Regions from separate parts of the Homo sapiens genome. Here regions 1, 2, 3, 4, 5 and 6 are each linked to region 7. The links are contacts of gene promoters, found by promoter capture Hi-C in blood cells and fetal thymus (Javierre and others, 2016). All regions are on one chromosome and are shown on one strand. The core of a region is centred on a gene start or on the middle of the fragment in contact, and the rest is flanking DNA. Distances in the headings are between cores, read along the strand shown.

What was found. Contacts are between HindIII fragments. The CHiCAGO score rates a contact against its expected background, and 5 or more counts as called.
Region 1: a fragment that was not itself captured here is called in contact with the fragment with the promoter of LCORL in region 7 in 2 of 17 cell types (monocytes and total CD4 T cells); the score reaches 7.0 in monocytes.
Region 2: a contact is called between a fragment that was not itself captured here and the fragment with the promoter of LCORL in region 7, in 2 of 17 cell types (endothelial precursors and M2 macrophages). The highest score is 8.8, in endothelial precursors.
Region 3: a contact is called between a fragment that was not itself captured here and the fragment with the promoter of LCORL in region 7, in 1 of 17 cell types (naive CD8 T cells). The highest score is 5.6, in naive CD8 T cells.
Region 4: a fragment that was not itself captured here is called in contact with the fragment with the promoter of LCORL in region 7 in 9 of 17 cell types (monocytes, total CD8 T cells, naive CD4 T cells and 6 more); the score reaches 10.9 in monocytes.
Region 5: a fragment that was not itself captured here is called in contact with the fragment with the promoter of LCORL in region 7 in 1 of 17 cell types (endothelial precursors); the score reaches 5.7 in endothelial precursors.
Region 6: a contact is called between a fragment that was not itself captured here and the fragment with the promoter of LCORL in region 7, in 5 of 17 cell types (erythroblasts, total CD4 T cells, activated CD4 T cells and 2 more). The highest score is 7.6, in erythroblasts.

Annotation. Positions count from the first base shown.
Region 1 is chr4:17,518,693-17,522,197 of GRCh38, reverse strand. The region is part of intron 1 of CLRN2 (clarin 2); the gene reads right to left. Among named protein-coding and RNA genes, the nearest start is that of CLRN2, 5.3 kb to the right of the region's middle. The HindIII fragment of the contact is 4,330 bases long and covers 1-3,505 here.
Region 2 is chr4:18,360,810-18,364,412 of GRCh38, reverse strand. No RefSeq gene overlaps it. Among named protein-coding and RNA genes, the nearest start is that of LCORL, 340 kb to the right of the region's middle. The HindIII fragment of the contact is 3,222 bases long and covers 470-3,603 here.
Region 3 is chr4:17,650,054-17,653,662 of GRCh38, reverse strand. It overlaps FAM184B (family with sequence similarity 184 member B), which reads left to right. Exons shown (of 18, transcript NM_015688.2): 11 at 680-833. Among named protein-coding and RNA genes, the nearest start is that of MED28, 37 kb to the right of the region's middle. The HindIII fragment of the contact is 5,533 bases long and covers 1-3,609 here.
Region 4 is chr4:17,630,989-17,634,285 of GRCh38, reverse strand. It overlaps MED28 (mediator complex subunit 28), which reads right to left. Exons shown (of 4, transcript NM_025205.5): 4 at 181-3,297. It overlaps FAM184B (family with sequence similarity 184 member B), which reads left to right. Exons shown (of 18, transcript NM_015688.2): 17 at 398-597; 18 at 1,661-3,297. The coding sequence ends at 1,754. Among named protein-coding and RNA genes, the nearest start is that of MED28, 18 kb to the right of the region's middle. The HindIII fragment of the contact is 5,359 bases long and covers 1-3,297 here.
Region 5 is chr4:18,320,617-18,324,093 of GRCh38, reverse strand. No RefSeq gene overlaps it. Among named protein-coding and RNA genes, the nearest start is that of LCORL, 300 kb to the right of the region's middle. The HindIII fragment of the contact is 5,768 bases long and covers 1-3,477 here.
Region 6 is chr4:17,536,459-17,539,904 of GRCh38, reverse strand. No RefSeq gene overlaps it. Among named protein-coding and RNA genes, the nearest start is that of CLRN2, 23 kb to the right of the region's middle. The HindIII fragment of the contact is 576 bases long and covers 1,774-2,349 here.
Region 7 is chr4:18,020,201-18,023,815 of GRCh38, reverse strand. LCORL (ligand dependent nuclear receptor corepressor like) reads left to right here and starts at 2,061. Exons shown (of 8, transcript NM_001394446.1): 1 at 2,061-2,218. The coding sequence starts at 2,065. RefSeq lists an enhancer at 1,430-1,689 and silencers at 1,740-2,199, 2,520-2,849. The HindIII fragment of the contact is 12,000 bases long and covers 1-3,615 here.

The DNA.
Region 1 (3,505 bases), core at 317-2,816, 500 kb after region 7:
TCAACATTTACTAAGTGCAGTCATGGGCCAAACATTTTACATCGTCATCTTGTTCAATGTGCATGACAAAGACATGAGGTAGATTTTATAAACTCCTTATACCCACAGGCTTGGAGACATTAATTGCTTGTGTTTGGGGAAGGCAACTCTTAATTCTATATAAGATTATAGTTCAATATACTATGAGAACAAATGTGACCCTGAAAGAGCCCGTCCTTCAAGATGGGTCCTGAGTGGTTAACTGGCTCTAAATTTAAAGTAGGGCCAAGTGGCCATTTACTGACTAGGGGGTCACACGCATCTTCTGAGTTCCTTGAAAACCCACACCTTTTTATCTTTGAGATCTGCCTCAGCCAATCAGGGCTCAGCTGTAATGACCAATCGGGGCTCAGCTGTACCAGCTAATCAGGGTTCAGCTGTATCCACCAATCAGAACTAAGTGAATTTGAATCCTTTATTTACCCAAACAGACCTGACTGGAAACCTGGGTGGGAACTTTTGCTATAAAATCTGAGCCTTCCCTTTCTTCTCTGGAATACACCTTCCTTTTACACCGGAGGCTGTGTTTCCCTGGTTTGCAAACCGTTAACTGGAATAAATTCTTTACTCCAAATTCCTTTTCTGAGAACTGTTGTTCACAACTGTATGGTATCAACAGTGTCAAGTCATGATCTTTAGTAGTTTTACATGAAGAATTGAACATTATGAAAGCTACAGAACTTCTGAGCATACTCATTCCTCTGCAATTGCTCCAAGGTTCCTGCTGAATACCCACCCTGATGGAACTAGTTCCTTTGCTGGTTCACCTGCCTCTCTTAGTCACTGAAGGTTGGCGTCTCCCAGTCCTGAGAACTAGAGTTTTTGTTTTTCCCGTTAGGTGTCCCGTTAGGTGACACATTTTCAGGCACTCCACGTTTACATTGTGCGTTCTGATGTTTCTTTCCAGTTCTGAATTTCCATTTATTTTTATCTCCCTATGGTTATCTAATCAGCATTGGAAACTTTACCCTGGAAGATGAGCTCCTTTCCAGTGAGTTTGTCTTTGTAAAGCGTCTTTCTTCCCTGTGCTTCTATCCCATCTTAATGTCCCTTAGATTTTTTTTTTCTCTTTTCAAACTCTCAGCCCCTTTTTGTTTCAGACACAGTAGCTTGTGCTGATATTTATTTATTTTTATTTTTAAAGACAGAATCTTGTTCTGTCACCCAGGCTGGAGTGCAGTGGCACCATCTCGGCTTGGTGCAACCTCCTTCTCTCTGATTCAAGCAATTCTCATGCCTCAGCCTTTCCAATAGCTGGGATTACAGGCACCCGCCTCCATGCCTGGCTAATTTTTGCATTTTTAGCAGGGACGGGGGTTTCACCATGTTGACCAGGCTGGTCTCAAACTCCTGGCCTCAAGTGATCTGCCCGTGCTGGGATTACAGGCATGAGCCACCAGACCCTGCCGCTTGTGCCTGATTTTTAAATTGTTTCATTATCCCCTTTCTTAACCAGGCAATCCTTAGGACACACGACTAACATAGTAATGCTTACCAAAACTCTTACAATAGAAAACAGTCACCTATGTGAATGGTAAAGATCAAAATGTTTGCTAAAACACCGTGTTGACAATGGTGTAAGGAAGAGGCACTCTCAAGTCTCATAGAAATATTAATTCATGTAACCTTGTTAGAGGGCAATTTGGCAACATCTACTAAAGCAAATTCACTTCTAGGAATTTATTTTCCAGAAGCACTCCCACATGTGCTCAAAGCGTGGATCAAATATTGGATATTCATTACAATAGCAAAAGATTGGAGAAAAAACAGTATGTGAATAGACTGATTTAATAAAGTATCCATAATGTCCATAATGTATATAATTCATCTTTTAAAAAGAAAGAATTATATCCACATAATGATTGAAACCATATCCAGATTTGATTTTTAAAAATTGAGAAATAATCATATTAGGATGACGGGGGAGAGGGAATTTGGGGAATGTGGAGTGATGTGGAGAGGGTGGTAAAGAGTGCCCAGTCCTCGGCCTTCATAGTAGGAAGTGCATTAACTATAATTAAAAAATACTTATTGGCAAAGGGCAAATCTCACTCAACCCCCACATTCTTGGGCCATAACACAGGGCTCAGGACCTCATGTTTAATAGAGATTTTATTATTTTTTAATATATGTCATTATTTAGAAATTCGAGGCTGGGGCAGTGGCTCATGCCTGTAATCCCAGCACTTCTGGGAGCCATTATGGGGGGATTGCTTGAGGCTAGGAGTTGGAGATAAGTCTGGGCAACATAGCAAGGCTCTGTCTCTAAATTAAATTATTTTTTAAAAAAGAAGAAAAAAGTAGAAATTCAAATCATTTCTCAGGAGTGTTAATGCACCAGTTCTTTCTACTTTCTCACTGAGAGGTGACTCTGCCTTAGCCTGACACCCAGTGCTGCCCTAGGAAAGCTGTTGCTCACTTGCCTTTCACATTTGAAATCCAGGTTCCAAGAGTTTTAGATGTCTCCCACTAGGAATTAAATTTAAGTTTCTAGCTTGAAATCCATGACCCTACACACGACTCATGGTGATAAATGACAACACGATTCATGGTGATAAATGACAACAGCCACCTATATGGGGTGCAGACTATGTGCCGGTGGCTTTATACATATTCTTTGTTCTGTTGCTCATGGACACCCTCTCTCATGCTTACAAATGAGGAAACTGAGGCTCGGAGAAGTGAAATAGCTTAGCTACGCTCCCACAGCAAGAAAAGTGTCAGCTTAACTACTCTATTACAGGGCTAGAGCAGAAAAATCAGAAAGCACAGATAAGTAGAGGTTTAAAATTCTAAACATAGAGTCTTTTGAATCCTGGAGGTCTCATTTTGAATTTGAATAGATATAGTTGTTTCCTACACATTAGAGGCAACTCACTTGAAAGCAGAATTGATTAATCATTCTATCAGCATCATTCTATCAGCATATGATGCATCTATCAGCATCTATCAGCATATGATGCATCTATCAGCATCTATCAGCATCTAAGATAATTTGTTTGCTCCGAATCCCAGAGAGGTCTGGCAGTCCTTTTCGCCCCAGCAGGGCAAATAAGAAAAGCAGGACATCTGAAGTCAAACCCAGGTCCTGGCCACTAGTGGAATACCTGTGAGGCAGGAAGTAGAGAGGAACCAGAGAACTAAAAGCTGCAAAGCAATCTATTACATTAGGTGCTTTTAAAGAAATTATTTTATGTATCGATTTCTCTGGTCTCTAATTTCCTCATCAGTAAAATGGGCGTAATAAAATCTCTTCTCTAGCATAGTAAAAATGGAAGGAAATGAACTACAAGGCAATGGCTTCAGATACTGTGTTCTGTGCCTAGTATATATTTATCTGCCTCTCCTTTATCAGATGGTAAATTTTTCTTTCTTTTTCCTTTCTCTTTTTTTTTTTTAGATGGATTTTCACTCTTTTCACCCAGGCTGGAGTGCAATGGCACAATCTTGGCTCACTGCAACCTCC
Region 2 (3,603 bases), core at 831-3,330, 340 kb before region 7:
AAAGTATAGGATAGTCTTTTCAACAAACGGTGCTTGAAAAGTTGGACATTCATATGCAAAAAGAAAGTACTAGACACAGACCTTACATGTTTCAGAAAATTTAACTCAAAATAGATTATAAACCTAAATGTAAAATTAGAATTATAAAATTTCCAGAGGAAAATCTAGGTGAACTTAGGTTTAGTGATTATGTTATAGACACAACATCAAAATCACAATTCATGAAAGAAAAAGAAATTGGACTTAATTAAAATTTAACATTTCTGATATGCAAAATATACTGTAAGAGAATAAAAAGATAAGCAACAGATTGGGGAAAAAATTGGAAAACTCATATCTGATAAAGGACATCTATCCAAAATATACAAAGCACACTTAAAACTCAACATTAAGTAAACAACCTGATTAAATAATGGGTCACAGACCTTAACAAACATCTCATGAAAGATAAACAAATGGCAAGTAAGCTTATGAAAAGATGCTCCAAATTATATGTCATCAAGAATTGTTAATTAAACAATAATGAGATACTATTATATGCATATTAGAATGGCAAAAGTTCATAGAACTGACAATGCTAATTACTGATTAGGATGTAGAACAACAGGAACTTTCATTCATTGTTGATGGGAATGAAAAATAGTGCAGCCACTTTGGAAGACAGTTTAGCAGTTTCTTGCAAAACTGAGTTTTCTACAAAGTCTTATCATCTGTATTAGACCGTTTCACACTGCTGGTAAAGATATACTGGAGACCGGGCCATTTACAAAAGAGGTTTAATGGACTCACAGTTCCACATGGCTGGGGAGACCTCACAATCATGTGAAGGGCAAATCTCATATGGTGGCAGACAAGAGAAGAGAACTTGTGCCGGGAAGCTCCCCTTTATAAAACCATCAGATTTCATGAGACTTATTCGCTATCATGAGAACAGCACAGGAAAGACCTGCCACCATGATTCAATTACCTCCCACTGGGTCCCTCCCATGACACGTGGGAATCGTAGGAGCCACAGTTCAAGATGAGATTTGGGTAGGGACACAGCCAAACCATATCACCATCCATCCAGCAATCATGCTTCTAAATATTTACCCAAATAAGTTGAAAGACTATGTCTGCACAAAAATTTGCACAAGATGTCTTTTAAAGGTGAATAAATAAACAAACTATGGTAGACCCATACAATGGAATATTATTCAGTGATAGAAAGAAATGAGCTTTCAAGTCACAAGAAGACAAGGATGAACCTTATATGTATAATGCTAAGTAAAAAAAAAAGCCAATGGGGAAAGACTACATACTGTATGATTCCAATTCTATGACATGCTGGAAAAAGCAAAGCTATAGAGGTGGTAAAAAGGTCAGATTTCAGAGAGAAGATGGGAAAGGTAAGGGTTGTGTAGGTGAAGCATGAAAGATGGGATCTTTTTTAGGGCAGTGGAACTATTCTGAATGACACTGTGATGACGGATACATTATACTCTTGTGTCAAAAATCCATTGAATTTCAAAACACAGTGAACATCAATAATTGTAATTTTTAACTAAATATTTTGGAATCCAAGAATGGAATCTGGAATTTAGGAAAACATTATGACAGTACTACAAGTGTACAAAACAACTTCGCTGAAGGACATGAAAGAATAAAGGTGGTAATCTAAACAACTTTAGAAATGTGTGAAGTCTGTAAGAGCAAAGGCAAAAGAAATTATATCTAGGTATTGTAGTCTAATGAATAAAGTTGTTTACCACAGAGGTATTGACTTACAATTCTTATACAATTATAAATGTAAACAGAAATTAAACAATTAGGTAGATGGATGGAAGATAGTGGGAGCCACTTCATACTGTTGGAGTTAGAGGTTACAAATTAGCAAGAGACAGTCTAGAGTAATCTGTGTGCTTACATTTTAGGGCTGGAGACATCGGTAACAACTCTGTTTAGCTTAACACAAATAGTTCCACATAGAAATATTTATAGATATAAGAGTATAGACTGGTTCTTATGTATGAATATATCCTTAGTCTGTCAGCTGATAGGGCCTAAAGTGACAACACCCCAGTAGCAATGAACAAGCCTAGTACCTAGATCTTGGGGTTAGTATCATTCTTCAGCACTTCTTTTTGTAGAAATGCCTGATTCTAGGACTGGGAAAGGAAATACAGAAAATGAGACTGGAGCATCCTGTAGTGCCAGAAAGTAAGGAAATGCTCAAATTTTAATTAGTTAATTATGAGAATATGTCAAAAGGGCACAAAAGTCACTTGAAAGAGTTCCTAATGGCCAAAACTGGAAAAGTTTGTATAACAAAATAAATTAAGTAATAGATGAAATCTGCTATGGCTTCAATGTTTGTCATTTCCAAAAGTCATGATGAAATTTTGTTGCCATTGTAACAGTATTAAAAAATGGGATCTTTAAAAGGCGATTAACCAATGAGGGCACCACCCTCGTGGATAGGATTGATGTTGTTATGAAAGGGTGTTTGCATCCCTTTTTCCCCCTCTCTCTTGCCCTCTCTTGCTGTTCTACCATGTGATGACACAGTGAGAAGGCCCTCACCAGATGCTAGCACCTTGATATTGGACTTCCCAGCCTCCAGAATTGTGAGTCAATAAATTTCTGTTAATCATAAATTACCCAGTCTTGGGCATTCTATAATAGCAGTACAAAGCAAACTAAGATATAGCTCAAAGTATAAAATAAATATTGATAGGCCAGACGCAGTGGCTCATACCTGTAATCCCACCGCTTTGGGAGGCCGAGGTGGGCAGATCATGAAGTCAGGAGTTCGAGACCAGACTGACCAACAGCGTGAAACCCCGTCTCTACTAAAAATAAAAAAATTAGCTGGGTATGGTGGTGCGCACCTGTAATCCCAGCTACTCAGGAGGCGGAGGCAGAAGAATCGCTTGAACCCAGGAGACAGAGGTTGCAGTGAGCCAAGATCGCGCCATTGCACTCCAGCCTGGGTGACAGAGTGAGACTCCATCTCAAGAAAATTAATTAATTAATTAATTAAATATTGATGAATCAATACAAATACAAATAAATTTTTGAATGACTAAATAGATTTGGAGAAGACAAAATCTCCCATGTGGAATTCTGAATAATTTATGTAGATACTCTCTCCTTCAGGAAACAAAACAGTTCCCCATTCCTTCAGTGTAGGCTCCATGTGTTGATATATTTTCAAAGAACACAATATGAAAAACAGAAGGAAGAAAAGTTACTTTACAATGAAGAAACCTAACAAAAAATACTCAACCAGGTGATAAAAGTTAACATCAAAAATAGTCACATTTATAGTAAGTACTCTTGATACGACATGATAAAAATGTCCCTTTACCACTGTGGTATTCTTCCTCAAAACACACAACCCCGGTCTAACAATGAGAAAAACATCAGGCAAGTTCAAATTGAGGAACATTCAACAAAATACCTAACCAGCACCCTTCAAAACTATCACAGTCATCAAAAACAAGAAAAGGCTGAGAAATTCTCAAAGCCAAGAGGAGCCTAATCACACATGACAGGTAAATGTAATGTGACATCTTAGATGGAATCCTAAAATAGAAAAAGACATCAGGCAAATCGTAAGGA
Region 3 (3,609 bases), core at 430-2,929, 370 kb after region 7:
TTATTAAAGTTTACCCAGCTGCTCACAGAACTTGCTTTGGGTGTTTGACACACAGTGGGACTTCAGTAAATAAATGTTTGTTGAGTGAAAGCGTGAATGAACCAAAAATAAAAAGTAGGGAAAAAAAGAATGAATGAATATGAACCCAAGGACAGAGACACAGACAGTTCTCAGGACCAAACAAGAGCATGGACTGAAAAGCTGTAGGGACCCCTCACCCTTCCCTATGTCATTCTGCTCTGCTGTGCACACCAGCCCTGGGCTTCCTCCACAGACAGCAGCCATCACCACACTAGTCCTGGGGCAGATGTCAGATAGTTACCTTAGTGCTCCTGAGTATGGTAAATTTGGAGCCACAGAGTCAGTATCTGTCTGTCAGTCTCTTTTGCTCTATCTCCCACCTCTTCATGTCAAATTTACATTAAAGGAACTTTGATTGGCCCAGGTTAGAACAGGTGTCCACTCTGGCCCAATCAGCTGTGGAAGGAGGTGGTTCACCTGGTGCAAAATGGCTGCTGTGGCCAGGCCATTGCTACAGCATTCTCTGTAGCCTGATAAGCCCTCCATGGGAGAGTGCGAGTGTTCAGAGCATCCTGGCTCAGAAGAGCTTGGCAAAGGAGTCAGGTCTCCCACCCTCATGCCCACTTTCATGCCTTCTTGTTCCCACTTTTTCCCACAGGCCACAGAGGAACGCTTGAAGAAGGAATCCAGCCACAGCCTCCAGATCCAACACCAGACACACCGACTGGAGCTCCAGGCCTTGGAGGAAAAGGCCAGGCAAGAGCTGCAGGAGGAGCGTGAGAGGATGCAGGCACAGCAGGCCCTGCTGCTAGGTATACACCCAATAGTGTACTGAGGAGGGCCTGGCCAACTGCAGGGTCTGCATGTAGAAACCAGAGACAAGCTGAGGGCCAGGGCTCCAGGGTTCTCGGGCTCACAGGCCACGGCTCCGGGAATCTCAGGCTCACAGGCCAGGGCTCCAGGGCTCTCAGATTCACAGGCCAGGGCTCCAGGCTCTCAGGCACACAGGCCAGGGCTCCAGGGGTCTCGGGCTCACAGGCCAGGGCTCCAGGAATCTCAGGCACACATGTCAGGGACAATCCTGGCTCTGCCACCAACTAGCTGTGAAACCTGGGATGGCTTACTGTGAGTCTCATTTTCCTTTTGTATAAAATTGAATTACAGTTGTCCCTACCTCATAGGCTCACTGTGTGGATTAAATGAGATATTAAACATAAAGGCCGGGTGTGGTGGCTGACGCCTGTAATCCCAGCACTTTGGGAGGCTGAGGCGGGTGGATCACAAGGTCAGGAGATAGAGACCATCCTGGCTAACACAGTGAAACCCCGTCTCTACTAAAAATACAAAAAATTAGCCGGGCGTGGTGGCAGGTGTCTGTAGTCCCAGCTATTCGGGAGGCTGAGGCAGGAGAATGGCGTGAACCCGGGAGGCAGAGCTTGTACTGAGCCGAGATGGCGCCACTGCACTCCAGCCTGGGCGACAGTGCAAGACTCAAAAAAAAAAAAAAAAAAAGATATTAAATATAAAGTGTCTAGCATATAACAGGAGCCCAGTGAATGTAGATACTATCATTATCATCATCATCATTATTATTGCATGTAACCCAGATCTCTGAGCCTTCATATGAGTTTCATGGCATTGCCTCAACCTCTCATTTCTGTTCTGAAGATTTCGGCAAATTGGAGGATCTTAGGCCTCCAGGCTCTGCTTCCTCTGCCTGCCCCCACATCATCCCCAGCACAAAACTCTCCCCCTTTTCAGTTGCCACATCAATAAAACCACTCACACACAGCATCTTCGAAGTTAACAGAGGTAAAGATCTCTAGAGCCAAACTGCCTGGGTGTGAAGCCCAGCTCTAACACTCACTAGCTGTGTAACTTTGGGTAGGAATTTGCTTAACTGCTCTGTACCTCAGTCTCCCATCTCTAAAATGAGGATAATAATAGCATTCACTTCACTGGGCTGTAATGACAATTACTTGAGTAAATGCATGAGAAGTGCTTCAAATAGAGCCTGGTATGCAGTAAGTCTATCTAAGTGTTCCCTGTTACATTATGACTGAATGTTTCTTTTCTTCTTTTTTTTTTTTTTTTTTTTTTTTTTGAGACAGAGTCTTGCTCTGTCGCCCAGGCTGGAGTGCAGTGGCATGATCTCAGCTCACTGCAAGCTCCGCCTCCTGGGTTCACACCATTCTCCTGCCTCAGCCTCCCGAGTAGCTGGGACTACAGGCGCCCGCCACCACGCCCGGCTAATTTTTCTGTATTTTTAGTAGAGACGAGGTTTCACCGTGTTAGCCAGGATGGTCTCGATCTCCTGACCTCGTGATCCACCCACTTCAGCCTCCTAAAGTGCTGGGATTACAGGCGTGAGCCACTGCGCCCGGCCATGACTGAATATTTCAATGTTGTATGCCTGATTCTGGAGACCTCTCTCATTTTTGTAGATCATCCCTGTCCCTCATTTTCTCCTTTACTGTCATCTTTCTTACTCTTAAGAGCAAGACAAATAACCTCTCACCATTTCATGCTGAGCACTAAAGATCATGTTGGCTTTATTAAGTATTTCTTCCAAACCTAGACAGGGCTCTCCTTAAGAGATTTCTGGGTGCTGAGTGTGGTGGCTCATGCCTGTAGTCTCAGCACTTTGGGAGGCCAAGGTGAGAGAGGATCACGTGAGGTCAGTAGTTCAAGACCAGCCTGGACAACATAGCAAGACCCCCATCTCTTTAAAAAAAAAAATTAGGAAAAGTAAAAAGAGAATTCTGGAGGACAGCATTTTCTTTACCTCCATAAGTGAGTTAGGCTCTACCTTGCTGCTTGGTTGAGTTCTCATTAGAAAGCGTGTCCCACTGACTGCATGTTTCTGAGGAAGTGGTGTGAGGAGCAGGAAGGAAAGAGTTTCGTAGACTTCCCAGTTAGCAGCTACCCTGGAATGGAGGTGCCTACATGGGAAATGCTGAAGTTAGCAGCATGTAAAGATAGAACCCAGGCTGTGCCACATGGCTCAGGTCCAAGGCTCCCCATGTACAGGTCAGGCTGGACATCCTGGTGATTCCAACACCCAGCAGCAGCTGCCAGTGCAGCTGTCCCTGCCACCCCTTCCCTGGCTTTTCTGACTCCACAGCAGCCCCATTCTTCCCCAAAGAAAAGAATCAGGAGAGATCCCTGGAAAGACCCTGGGGAAAGGCTGGGCTTCTCAGCACCAGTCCCAAGAAGAAGGGGCTTTGTGGACTCTGTGATGACAACAAATCATAGGCTTCAAGGGAAGGTGCAAGCACCTACAGTAATGGCAGGTTGATATGAGATATTCCTGATGCTGATTATTCTTCTTCTTATATCTGTGTGAGACACAACTGACCTGCAATACTATAGGTCCCTGTGAGAGGGCAGGGAGGGTGGGTGTTTACTAGAGGGTTGGGACCTAGACATGCTAGATGGATGGATGGATGGATGGATGGACAAGTGGATGGGGGTGTGGGTGGATGGGTAGTTGGGTGGACAGGTGGAGGGACAGAAAAATGAGTGGATGGATGGACAGGAGGAAGGATGGATGGATGGATGGACAGACAGACAAATGGAGATGTGTGG
Region 4 (3,297 bases), core at 455-2,954, 390 kb after region 7:
ACTAATGTCATCTCGTGTAGTTTTTATGTATCCCTCATTGTGACAAAATACAAGTTTCACTCCAGAAATTTAAATAAATGCATTTGAGGCTAGGGTGGGCCCATCCCCTGCTGGGGGTGTTACATGACCTTCTAAAATCTTAAACAAAATTGAGTTGCAAAACACATCCATCTCCAGAAGTTTTGGTTAAGAGGTTGTGAACATACATATTTATTTATAATACAAAATGAAGATTGGAGGGAAAAGTGCTTTAAAAAATAGCATGTAAGTGTATAAATGAAATTGTTGCTTCTTCTCCGATACAATTTTGATTGGGTGAGCATTATTTGCTTTTACAATAATGCTTTATTTTGTTTTTTGCATTGCATTGCACTAACCTGTCCATTAATACAAACAGAAAAAGAAGGTGGAGGACGTGCCCAGCCGCGTGGTCAGCGTGCCGAACCTCGCCTCCTATGCAAAGAACTTTCTGAGTGGCGATCTGAGTTCCAGGATTAATGCCCCTCCAATAACTACATCACCCAGCTTGGACCCAAGCCCCAGCTGTGGCCGGACCTACAAACCCAACCAGTCTACAGATGCAAAAACTGCCACAAGGTTTGGGGGATGTTGGGGACAGGGGCCCTTATTCTATTTCCCTGTAGATAAGAGGGGAAGTAGGATTCTTTCTAGCACCTGGTACCAAATTCCAGAAGGCCTTTTTTCATGGATGATTAGACAAGGGACACTGAATCACTTACCTGAAAACTTCAGCATGGGTTATACAAAAGGTGGACTCCATCTGGCCTGGAGGTCTGAATTCAAATTACAGTCTTCCTCATTCTTAGCTCTGTGGCCTTGGACAGGTCACTTGACCTCTCCAGGTCTCCATATACCTTGCCTTTAAAATTAAGATAATACAGCACCTATCTCATCAGACTGACGTGAGACTAAAGGAATTAATCCATAGGATGTGCTTAGCACAGGACTTGGCACAAAAATCTTCAATATAGTTTCAGTATTATTACTAACATTATTCCTCAAGATTTACTCTATCACCTTGGAATTCTAAAGTCTCTTAATCGGGCCGGGCTTGGTGGCTCACGCCTGTAATCCCAGCACTTTGGGAGATGGAGGTGGGTGGATCACCTAAGGTCAGGAGTTCGAGACCAGCCTGGGCAACATGGTGAAACCCATCTCTACAAAAAATACAAAAATTAGCCAGGTGTGGTGGTATGCGCCTGTAATTCCAGCTCCCCGGGAGGCTGAGGCACAATGATCGCTTGAACGCAGGAGGCTGGAGGTTGCAGTGAGCCGAGATCATGCCACTGCACTCCAGCCTGGGTGACAGAGGGAGACTCTGTCACAAAAAATAAAAACAAAGTCTCTTGATCTGTAGGTTTGGTTAATCCTGCATTATTAGAGCTACAACCACTAAGTCTCAAAGGAACAATGGAGAACCAAACAATGGTGAACCTTCTGTTTTCCAAATGAGGATTAGGTACTCCCTCCCCAGCCCCATCCTTTACAATTTGTTTCCCACTACTAATGTTGGCCAGTCCCATTTGGGTGTTTTTGAAGAGTAAACAAGCAGTTATCTTTCCCTGAAAAGATGGTGGGTATTAAGCTGCTTCTTGCATAGTTTTCAAAACCATATAAAAAAACCTTTTTTTGCTTTTAGGACCCCAGATGGTGAAACGGCCCAAGCCAAAGAAGTCCAGCAGAAACAGGGCTCTCCGCACCAGGAATGGTTCACCAAGTACTTTTCTTTCTAAGCTAACCTTTGGGATACATCACAGAGGATACTTGAAAAACATTTATTTTAAATCATCCGATTGAAGGAATGAACTAACACCAACCAACCAAATAATATGCTTATGATTTATATATGATAGCTAAAACAAATTTTGGCGTTAACACTTCATACTGTTCTGCCAGGCACAGCAGCTCACGCCTGTAATCCCATCACTTTGGGAGGCTGAGGCAGATGGACTGCTTGAGTCCAGGAATTTGAGACCAGCCTGGCCAATATGGTGAAACCCCATCTCTACAAAATATACAAAAATTAGCCAGGCATGGTGGCGTGTGCCTGTGGTCCCAGGTACTTGGGGGACTGAGGCGGGAGGATCACTTGAACCTAGGAGGCAGAGGTTGCAGTGAGCCAAGTTCGAACTCCTGCATTCCAACCAGCCTGGGTGACAGAGGGAGACCCTGTCTCCAAAAAAAAAAAAAAAAAAAAAAAAAAAAAAAAAAAAAAAAAAAATTGACATTAAACCAGTGTTATTAAAAGTCATCTATAGGAAAATGTTATTAGCGTTACTAATGACCCATACCTTGTATTTCTAGTGTCCATAACATCATACTCCATTTTGTGGAACATCAGACTTTGTGATTTCCATGATCTATTTCAAAAGTGGTTGTACTTGTCCTTAGGATGCTAGTCAACTCCACTGGAAAGCTGTTTCTATGTAAAATGATGCAATTCCAAAATGCACATCTAACCTCAATAGGAAGACAAATAACAGTTAAACAGGAAAGCCAACTAAAAACAAACCAAACCTACCAGAAATGGATGGTAGCATGCTTGGACTGAATACTTTCACTTCCTTGGTCTAAGACAAGCAGCAGATTATAGATGGGATAACACCCACCTCTAAAAGGGCTTTGCAAGGATTAAGCAAGATAACATAAATTAACATGAATTGGAATTAAGTACCACAAGGTTTTTCTGTAAATAACCAATCCTAGCCCAGTTATAGGTCTCAGTGTAATGACCATAGTGCCAACATGATCACTTGTGAAGGTCTCTAGATTATCTGTTCTTTGAAGTCAAAGATCTTCTAGACTGGGCACATGGCTCATGCCTGTAATCCCAACACTTTGGGAGGCTGAGATGGGAGGAGAGCTTGAGGCCAGGAATTTGAGACCAGCCTGGGCAACACAGCGAGACCTCCATCTCTACAAAAAAATAATTAGCCCAAAGAAAACCCAGCTACTTGGAAGTCTGAGGTAGGACAGCATGAGCCCAAGAGTTCGAGACCAGCCTGGGCAAGATAGTGAGATCCCATCTCTACAGATTAAAAAAATATATATATATATCCCCTGAACCTCTGGTCTTTGGGTTTGAGCCATTTGCCTCATGGTGTGTTGCTTCTTCACTGCATGAATTCCCAGTGGGTTAAAGGAACCGCAATGGCTGTTCACGGTGCTGACCTTGCTCTCAGTCCACACTGATTTGTCTTACCTTCTGACAGAGCAATGTGATTTGACAAGACTCAATAACAACTTTTAGGGGGCAAAATATTTTTTCAGTCTTTG
Region 5 (3,477 bases), core at 754-3,253, 300 kb before region 7:
CCATCTTGCTAGGGAGAGCTCTACATGCTTGACTAATGATGTAAAGTTTAAAACATTTAATAAGCTAAATGTTGCAGGGCCTTGTGCTAAATACAGTAGTGACAAAGTCAAAGGCATAAACTCTACCCTTAAGGAATTCAAGTCTACTAGGACAAACAGACATGTGATATGTCATTTCAATATGACTTTGGTAAATATTATGGTATTGATATGCACAGTATGCTCTAGGAGCTCAAGAGAATGGTACTGCTCTCAGTTACTAAATGTCTGCTACCCTAGGGACTCTAATGGACATTATTTCATTTAAGACTCAGACCAGCCCTTGAAGGAAGATATTTTTATCTCCAACTTAAATAATGAGAAAATTGAGATTCAGATAATTTAAGCAACATAGTCCTAGGTTGCACAGATAAATTAGTAGCATTCTTTCTACTACATCATGCTAAAAGGAGGTTACTTAACTTGGTGGGCAGTGAGGTATCATGGGAGGGTTTGAGCAGAAAAATGGCATCCTCTGAGCTATGCCTTAGGAGGATTAATATGGTAGCAATGTGAAGGAATAAAGGATGGCAGAGGCACCAATCAGAAGACTATTGTACGTTAAAACTTGAGGTGATGATGCTCTGAGAATTAGCTATTTTTTTTAAAAAAGTTCTAATTAGGCTTGCTGTGTGTGGCAGTCATTAGTGCTCTTCACCAAATAAATTCTCCAAATATTCTGTTTCTTCCTCTCTTGGGCATAGGGTAGGATTGCACCTCCTTGCCTCCTTAGATTTAGGTGTGGTCATGTTACTTCATTTGGCTAATGAAATGTCAGTAGGAATGACAGGTTTCACCACACTGCCTGTTTTCCCTTCTCCCATGGCAACAAAAAATGATCTACAGAGTATTGGTCCATTAGTCTGGGACCCAGAGTGAGAATGATGTAGAATAGATCTCCTTCTGAGCCATGATAGACAAGAAGCATTTGTGAAAAATAAAACTTGTTTATTTTAAGTCACCAGGATTTTGGACTTGTCTGTTACCATGGTATAACCTAGGTAACCCCAACAGATGTCATGTGTTCTCCTGAGACCTCGTCATTTCAAGCACTGTTGCTCAAACTTTAATGCACACCCTTATACTTAGAATTCTTGTTAAAATGTAGACTCTAGTTAAGAAGGTATGGGGTGAGACACAAGACACTATATTTTTAACAACTTCCCAAACCCAGGTGGTACAGATGCTACTGATTCACACTTTTGTATTGCAAGAGTCTAAAACTGCACTGTCTAGAATGATAGCAAACAGCCACATGTGGCTGTTTAAATTTAAATTCACTAAAATTGAATAAAATGAAAAATCCAGTTCCTCAGTTATACCAGCTCCAATTCATAAGCTCAAAAGCCACATGAGGCCAGTGGCTACTGTATTCAACAACAGAGACATAACACATTTTCATCATCACAAAAAGTTTTATTGAACAGTGCTACCATAGAGCAACATGCAGAAGCACAAAGTGACGATTGGTCCCAGCAGCTTGGGAGCTGAGAATGGTTGAGATTCAGGAAAGCAGAGCTGCTACTATCAAACAGAAACCCAATAGAGAGAGAGTTGAGTCCCAGGACACAAAGCTGAGATGGAATGAAATGTGACATTTGATCTGTGTACAAGACAAATTCTTGCCCTGCCTAATTATTTTTTTCCCCTGTGGATCATTTCAAGAGATCCCATTTCAGGGCAGGCACTTCCAGGGAGCCTCCTCTCTTTTTGCCCTGATGTTGTCTGTCCATTTTGGCTAATCTATTTACTTCCCCTAGAAAACACACGACACCAAGTATAACGCTTGTTTTTGATCTCCTTTCCCCAAGAAATCAATAGCACTCAGAGAGAGCGTGCCTGTAAGCCCAGTCAAAAGAGCTATAGAATTACACAGTGCAGTAGGCACGTGGCTGTGATTGGGTGATGGCTGTTGCCTGCTGCTAGTGATGTTCTATAACCTGGCACCCACTTGCTCCTCTCCCCTCCCCTTCACTGGCAGCTCAAACAGGAGAAAACCTCCCGGTTCATTTTATCCTTTCTTCCTCACCTCCACTCACTCTGAAAATAGTAGACCCCCTTTTTTAGATTTTGACTTGGACAGAGGTTAATAACCTGAGAATTCCATGGGCACAGGAGAACAGTATGCAAAAGTTTGATGTATGTTGCATGACCCCCAATGGGCCGCAAGACTAACAGAGAAGTGGGGAACAACTATAGCTTGCTCCATCCAGATTCTAGTAGCCCAGTGCATGAGTTGAGGAACAAAAACAACTAAAAAGGAACAAGGATATTAGCAGAAAGAGAGAAGAATAGACAGGAGTAAGGAACTGCTTAGGAGTGACTTGCTGAAAAAAATACTGACAACCACATGGAGTGGAAGACAATGCCAACAAAGATAACAACTCAGACCATATGCCTCATTAAGCATGAACTCACTTTTCACCCTTCCCCATGTTACTAAGGCTTTAGTCGCACTGTCAGAGAATAACCTAAAACTGGTTGAAATTAAGTTCCCCCGCTCAGCAGTAAAGAAGATTATAACAAACATTAAGTTAAAGTTGCATCCTTCTACACCATGGTAGACAGTGCAACTTCTTGAAGAGTCTATAACTTTTAGCAGATTCTCAAAGGACTCCTTGGAGGCTCTCTGACAAAGCACATGGTGCATCTGTGAGTATAGACTAGAGTTGGCCTTGTCCTTTCAAGGATCTTTCTCTTCCACTTTCTTGCTTCCTGCATAGACCAAGAGGCTTGACCTAACTGCCAAAACCCCACTGGTAATAGTGCTATGTTCAGGACTTGCAGAAATGTAGTACTTTAGTCCTTTTCCAACAATTTCACCTGAAGACCTCCAATTGCAGGAGAGAATGAATTTGAACCTACCCCCTTCTCTCCACTCCAGGGATCTGAGGCAGAGCTCAAAATGGTCATGATCTTTGAAGCACATCAAGTTCTTTGAAGTCTGTGCTACATTTTTAAGCATTCTGAGTTTTTACCCTATGATCCAGTCATGCTGTTCAGATATAAAAATTATGATTTTTATTATAGATCTTCAAGCATAGCTTGAGTATCCTTTATCCGAAATGCTTATAACTAGAAATGTTTTAGATTTCAATTTTTCCCCAGATTTCAGAATTTTCAATTTATACTTACCCAGTTAAGCATCCCAAATCTGAATATTCCAAGTCCGAAATGCCCTAAACAGCATTTGCTTTGATCGCCATGTTGGCACTCAAAATATTTCAAGTTTTGGAACATTTTGGATTTGGGATGCTCAACCTGTACAATCAATACACAGAAAGCCACATCATGCTTAATCTGTGAATTAATAATGTAGGTTCTTCTTATCACACATCACCCTGGACCCCCCAAAATTTGTAACTCTGTGTGAGAAGCATGGTAGACTTTGTTGGTTCTTTGGACATTTTGTGTGCGTCTACCATGCGCCTTGCCTTT
Region 6 (3,446 bases), core at 812-3,311, 480 kb after region 7:
AAGGATGTTTATAGCAGCTTTATTCATAATTACTAAAGCTTGGAGGAAAGCAATATGTTCTTCAGTAGATAAATAGATAAATAAACTTTGGTACACACAGACAATGGAATATTATTCAGTGCTAAAAAGAAATGAGCTATCAAGGTACTAAGACATGGAAGAAACATAAATACATTTTACTAAATGAAGGAAGCCAGTCTGAAAAGGCTACACACTGTATAGATACATATATAGGTACATACACACATACTGTACCTACATATGTATAGATATTGCAAAATTCCAACTGGCACATTACAGGCATTAGCCACCACACCTGGCCTATTTTCTAAATAATTTAGGAACAGTTTCTGGGTGCTTAACATCTGTCAAAGAGCAAAAGCCCTAGAAAGATTCCTGTCCTGGCTGGGCGCAGTGGCTCATGCCTGTAATCCCAGCACTTTGGGAGGTTGAGGTGGGCGGATCACCTGAGGTTTGGAGTTTGAGACCAGCCTGACCAAAATAGAGAAACCCCATCTCTACTAAAAATACAAAATTAGCCAGGCGTGGTGGCTCATGCCTGTAATCCCAGCTACTCAGGAGGCTGAGGCAGAAGAATCACTTGAACCCAGGGGGTGGAGGTTGCAGTGAGCCGAGATCGTGCCATTGCACTCCAGCCTGGGCAACAAGAGCGAAACTCTGTAAAAAAAAAAAAAAAAAATCCTGTCCTCATAGAGATGACATTCTCATGGAGAAAGACAGGCAGTATACAGTAAGTATAACACAAATATCAATTATCTAGCATGTTAAAGATAAGCAAAAAGAAAACGTCGAGCAGGGTAGTAAAGATGAACAATAGTGGTAAGGTATAAGGCAGGCTTCACTATTAAACTGGGTTTAATTTGAGGCGAGACTCAAGTTCACAACGCAACCTCAAACCTCCTGAGAAGTCAATTCCCAAAATAGATGGGAAGGCAATTCCTAAAGTTGTGAGAGATGATGTAATCATTTACTTTGTGAGTAAGTGTCTTTTTGCCCTGACAAAGCTTAGAATTAAGTACAAAAATACTTAAAAGAAGCAAAATCAAGGTATTGATATTTTTGATTTTAAAATTTGTACTTCCTTATTATTTTATGTATTGGTGATGAAAGAGAAGCTGGTCTGCTGGTGAAACAGGACAGCCGTATATTTCTAATGATTTGGAATCATGTTTTGCTTATTTATATACAGGGCTGGAATTTTTTTTTTTTTTTTTTTGAGACAGAGTCTCGCCCTGTCGCCCAGGCTAGAGTGCAGTGGTGTGATCTCGGCTGACTGCAACCTCCGCCTCCCAGGTTCAAACAATTCTCCTGCCTCAGCCTCCCGAGTAGCCGGGATTACAGGCGCCTGCCACCACACTCAGCCTTTTTTTTTTTTTTTTTTTTTTTTGTATTTTTAGTAGAGACATGGTTTCACCATGTTGGCTAGGCTGGTCTCAAACTCCTGACCTCGTGATCCGCCCTCCTTGGCCTCCCGAAGTGCTGGGATTACACGCTTGAGCCACTGCACCCAGCCAGAATTTTTAAGATAACTTAAGGTTCACAGCATTTTAACTTTAATTCATTAGACTTAGAAGAATTATTAAATTTTGTCAGTTAATTGAAGTGCATGGAAAATAAATTAAGTTACATAGGCTGTTTCAAGATGTTTATTTAGTACATTCATAAAGGGGACCAAATGGTAAACCAAAGCTTTTAAAAAGAGATCACTAAAATTTGCTAACCTAAAAAACAGAACAATAATATTTATAAGCTTAACTTCAATTTAAGGAGAAACAAATTTTGTGAATGTATAACTTTAATAAATGGAATATTACCTATTTCAATGTATTATTATTATTATTTTCATTTTTGCTGAAAGGCATACAACGTGCTATGTAAAGGGAACTTGAAAAAGTCATGCATTCCCATTCTTTACTTTCTGAAGTAACTAACAGTGTTTTTGCCACAGTTTTGTAAATTCTAACTAACTTGTTAAAGTTTGCCATAGTGATGACTGAGAAAAGAGACGAGGCCTTCATGATGAGGGCTTTAAAGAAACAAAGGCATACTTACAAAACAAGATTTAAAACATCACGATTAATTAATTTTCAAGAAAATTGTTTTCATTACAAGGAATAACCTACTACAGCAAAACCCTGAAGGGTGGGCCTTTAAAATGGTTCAGCTGACTACTCACCATAGGAACACTACTTTTCAAAACTAAAGTAAAATTTTGAGTAGTTTGTTTTGGAGTCAGAAATCACCATTACTGACATAGTTAATAAACAGCTGGTATATCAGGAGCCACCTCTCAGGTGGGCCACTTAAGCTGTGGTACCCAGGGAAGCTTCAACAAGAGTAGACAGAATGACTCGAGGATGGCTCATTTCTCTCTTCAACAGTGCTGAGAACTTTTTTCCTTTCTTTTTTTTTTTAAATATATTTTTATAGAGATGGGGTCTCCCTATGTTGCCCAGGCTGGTCTCAAACTCCTGGGCTCAACTGATCCTCTTGCCTCGGCCTCCCAAAGTGCTGGGATTATATTAATAGACAAACATCTCCTTTTCAATAGAAAGAATCCTTTTGTCCTATTCACTCCCTCCTGCCTCCTACCGCACGGTGGCATAAGCCACCACACCTGGTCTGGTGCTGAGAACTTCTGTGGGCCTCTTACAAACATCTCTCTCTCTCTCTTTTTTTTTTTTTTTTTGATAGAGTCTCACTCTGTTGCCCAAGCTGGAGTACAGTGGTGTGATCTCGACTCACTGAAACCTCTGTCTCCCAGGTTCCAGTGATTCTCCTGCCTCAGCCTCCCGGGTAGCTGGGATTACAGGCACGAACTACCACGCCTGGCTAATTTTTGTATTTTTAGTAGAGACGGGCTTTCACCATGTTAGCCAGGCTGGTCTCGAACTCCTGAGCCTCAGCCTCCCAAAGTACTAGGATTACAAGTGTGTGCGCCTGGCCACATCCCCTTTTCAATAGAAAGAATTCTTTTTGTCCTCTTCACTCCCTCCTTCCTCCTACTCCCTTGAAATCTGTAAGGTTGAGAGAATTGTTATGTTAGAAGAAAAAAATGTATTATATACAATTTATTGTTCCGCAAGAGGTCAATGACAAAAGAAAAATCACTGTGGTTCCAAAGTCATTTGTTAGTGTTGCTTATTATTTTTTCCAAAACAGAAAGCAATAAAGCAAACAATTACATGCCATGTTTTTACATTTGTTTTATTTAACCAAGAACTCAGCCGCGAACATCAGAGAAATGCATATACAATATATTCAGAATATAGTTGAATTGGTGGTTGAAATCCTCACAATATTAAATTGTCAGTGCATGTAACAGCATCTCCAATCACACTGGTAGTCAACTATTACCAAATAGCATTCATGAAAATGCCTAGCTTAGTGCCCGGCATATAGTTAGGTGCTTTATTCACTATAAA
Region 7 (3,615 bases), core at 812-3,311:
TCTGGTTATCTTCTTTTTGCACATATAATAGGATCGCACTTCCCTGCTCCCTTTAAGATAGATACGCCCGAATAATTCGCTTTGGTCAATGAAATGTGAGAACTGACTTGTATCACTTTTAGGAAGAACCAGTTCGCCATTCTTCATCTTCCTTTTGCCTATCACCCAAGGGGGGACGTTGCAGAGATTCCAGCCTCTTTAAGGATCCAGTTGCTTAGTGAGACCACATGGAATGAAGCCCCCTCCTCCTGCCACCCAGAGATGAACATGTAGATAATCAGGAAATAGTTTTTTGTTGTTGTTTTAAGCCACTAAGATTCTTGGATCATTTATTACTGCACCATAATTTTTCCCATCCTAACTAATGTAGATTACTATAAAAGTGATCAGGAAAACTGCAAAGGCTGATCATCGTGGCAATTGTGAGTGGAAGTGGTTAACTAAAACCATCCACTGACAATTCCAAAATCACCTTCACTAGTGATTTCACCTGCACTCCAATTGTGACCGTTCTAGAAAAGGTGATTATGCGTTCAAACTTTATTATTTTTAACTTATGAAGATGCAAAATTACATCTTCACTACTGAAGTCATAATGAGCAAAGAAATACTTTCTCATAGGAAGAAAAAGAAGGTGGATAAGGATAAGCCACAAAACAGGGAAGGTGGTACTGAATTCAGAGTTTATGAGATTTCCAAGAAGAATTAAACATATTTCCCACAGACTTGTGAATAAATTTCCAGAAATACACAGTACTTCTTAGCAAACGTTGGGTAGCTTAGCTTCGGCTTGATAAACTGCACTTATACGGAAACAAACGCACAATCGCTCTGGTGCAAAAGTAAAAACTGTGATTGGAGTCTGTATTTAAACGTAAGATTCCTCTCTAGCTCTCTCTGAAGAAGTTATTTTCTCTAGCACGTGGTAGAATTCATTCCATTAACCTTTGTAAAGTGCTTAATCCCGTGTCACGCACTGTACTAGGGTCTAGCGAGTGACAGATGTCACGGTACAGAGATCTCAGTGGGTCGCTGCCCTCCAGGAGCTTATAAAGAAAATTTTCCTTCTGCAGTTTTCAGCCGGCTACACCCAGTCCCCTGCAAGTAATTTTCAGTGAAAAAAACCCGCATCTTTTTCCTAGTCCTTGCAAATATTCTGGCTTTCCGAGATCTCTTCGCCTTGAATACCGAAGTCACTCCGGGATCTCTCTCTGGACGTTTGGCAGTTATTCCAGATGTAGCCGAATGACCGGCTTGCCCTTTCCCTGCGGAGTGACAGGAAGACAGCGACCCCGGAAAGTTTCCAGCACTTAAAACGCAAAGCGCAGCCTGAACCCACAAGGAGCCGACAACTCTTGCGGCTTCCACCACCCTTCTATCGCGGAGCCTAAGGAAGCTAAAGCAGTCGGGTCAGACCCGGCCACCGGGCAGCGCATGGTTCCGGGCGCAGGGAGCGACAGACTCAGCCCCCCAGCGGCGCGGCGCAGAGAAGTTGCAGGCCAGCCTGCATACCCAAGTGCGGGGGGGAAGAAAAACAAACAAACAAAAAAAATCCTTTCTTCTGGACTACAATGACCGGCAAGCAACGCGCCACGGCGCCAAGTTCAGCTTCGGGATCCTGGCGAAATGGAGCCTGGGAAGTGAAGTCTCCGGACTGTCGGAGTCCCGTAGTGAAGGCAGAAAGTAGGCGTTGCTAGTCCGCTCCACTAGCACGCCGGTTCCTGGCTGGGCTCCGGGTCTCTCGCTCCCGCTCAGGGTTTTCGCGGGCGGCGGGAGCGGTATGGCTCGCCTGAGTAAACTCCAGCGGGAGGGGGAGGAGGGTAGTGGGTGGGGAGGCGGGGTCAGCGGAAGCGGCAGGTTGCTTCCTTCTCCTCTGGCTCCCTCCCCGCCTCTCCCTGAGGGAGCGGTGGGAGGGGGAGGGCAGGGCAGAGGGAAGGTAGTGACACGTGTCAATCAACCCCCCTCCGGGGGGCGCGCGCTCCGGGGCTCGCGCCGAGGGCTCGCGCCCCTGCCTCGTGCCTGCGCTGCTCGTATGTAAATGAGGGCGCGTGACGCGGGACGCAGATGGACAAGGGAAGAGAGAGAATGGCCGCTGCCGCCGCCGCTGCTGCCGCCGCCGCCGCCGCCGCTCAGTGCCGGAGCCCTCGGTGCGCGGCGGAGAGAAGAGGATTCCGGCGGGAACTCGACTCTTGGCGCCACCGCCTCATGCACTGTGTAGGTAAGAGAGACGCGGGCCGGGGCCCCGGGCTCCGCGCGGCGACCGCTGTCGCAGCCCGAGGAGTTTGTGGCTGAGGGGTTTAGTTGAATCTCCCGTTCGGGTTAGTTCGGTGGGGGAGCGAGATGGGAGCGGCGCGGCGCGGCGGCCCCGGCGCTCGCCTTTTGTCTTGCGGGCTGCTGGCCCGGCGCGGTCCGCGCTCCTTCGCCTTCCCAGCTCTTGGGCTCCCCGGGAACTGTTAGTTTGGACCCGCTTGCTGAGCCCCCGCGGAAGCCGCCCGCTCGCTCTCTCCCCGAAACTCCTCGGCGCCCGTCGCTGCCCGCCGTCGCCCGCCGTCCACCCTGACAGGACGGAGGAAGCGGCCCGGTGGGTCGGCGCCCTGGCGGAGGAGAGCCGGCGGGCAGGGCGGCCGGAGGAAGGCGGGCTGGTCCGCGCCCCCGCCGAGCGCACACACACCCCCTTGTCGCCGCCGGGGGCCGGGTGAGCAGACGCGGCCAGTTCCCGGGGACCTGGACCTGGAGACCCACGGGCACTCGCAGGGCGGGGGCCGCTGATGGGCCGGCTGGGGGCGAGGGGCGGCGGGGGCGTCGTCCGAGGGGCGGGGGGCGCCCAACTCTGCCCTCTCGCGCTCGGCGGCGGCGCTGTGTGTACCCCTTTAAGAAGGAGCCGCTTGAGCGCTGACGGTTGGGATTTGAAGTTCTTCCTCCCTCTTTGGAAGTCTGGACGGATGGGGGGTGTTGCCACGGCAACGACACCCTCCCCCCCGTCTGCTTGCGGACGCCCCGACGACTCTGGTCCTCTTTCACTGTCATGTGATGGACTCTTCCTTACACACACACACACATATACACGCATACGCATCGCCCTCCCCACCTCCCATCCCCATTCAACTGCAATTCCCTCTTTTTGGTTGGATCTGAATCGTTTTGCCTCAAACTTCTGGGCTTGGGGCTCTCACCCTGTGGATTGTTTAGGGTGACAGGAATGGTGGGACTCCCGACCTTGCTGCAGTCGCTTTTTTTTTTTTCTTTTTTTGCCTAAGACGAATGCATAGAGCTGTTATCCAGCAGGTTGGTTTAGTGGGCTTAGAGGGGCGAACACGGATTATGGAATGGGGCGCGTTGTGGGTGTTTGTTTTGGAAGGGGGTTATGGGTGGGAGTGTAGGGGAAGAGGTAGAAAGGAAGGTTGTATTGTGTAAGCAGTGGATAGTGGCAGCAGCTTGCTCTACTGGCGAGTGAATCTTGGCATTTGGAGTTGGGGAGTAACCCTAGTGTCTTAAGAAAACAACTCTCTTACCTTGTTTCCATCTGCTCTGGCACCACCTCGCACCCCCGACCCCGCCTCCCATGTATTTGGTTAACGTCTTAAGATCTTTTTTTGACTAGTAGAGAAGAGATCG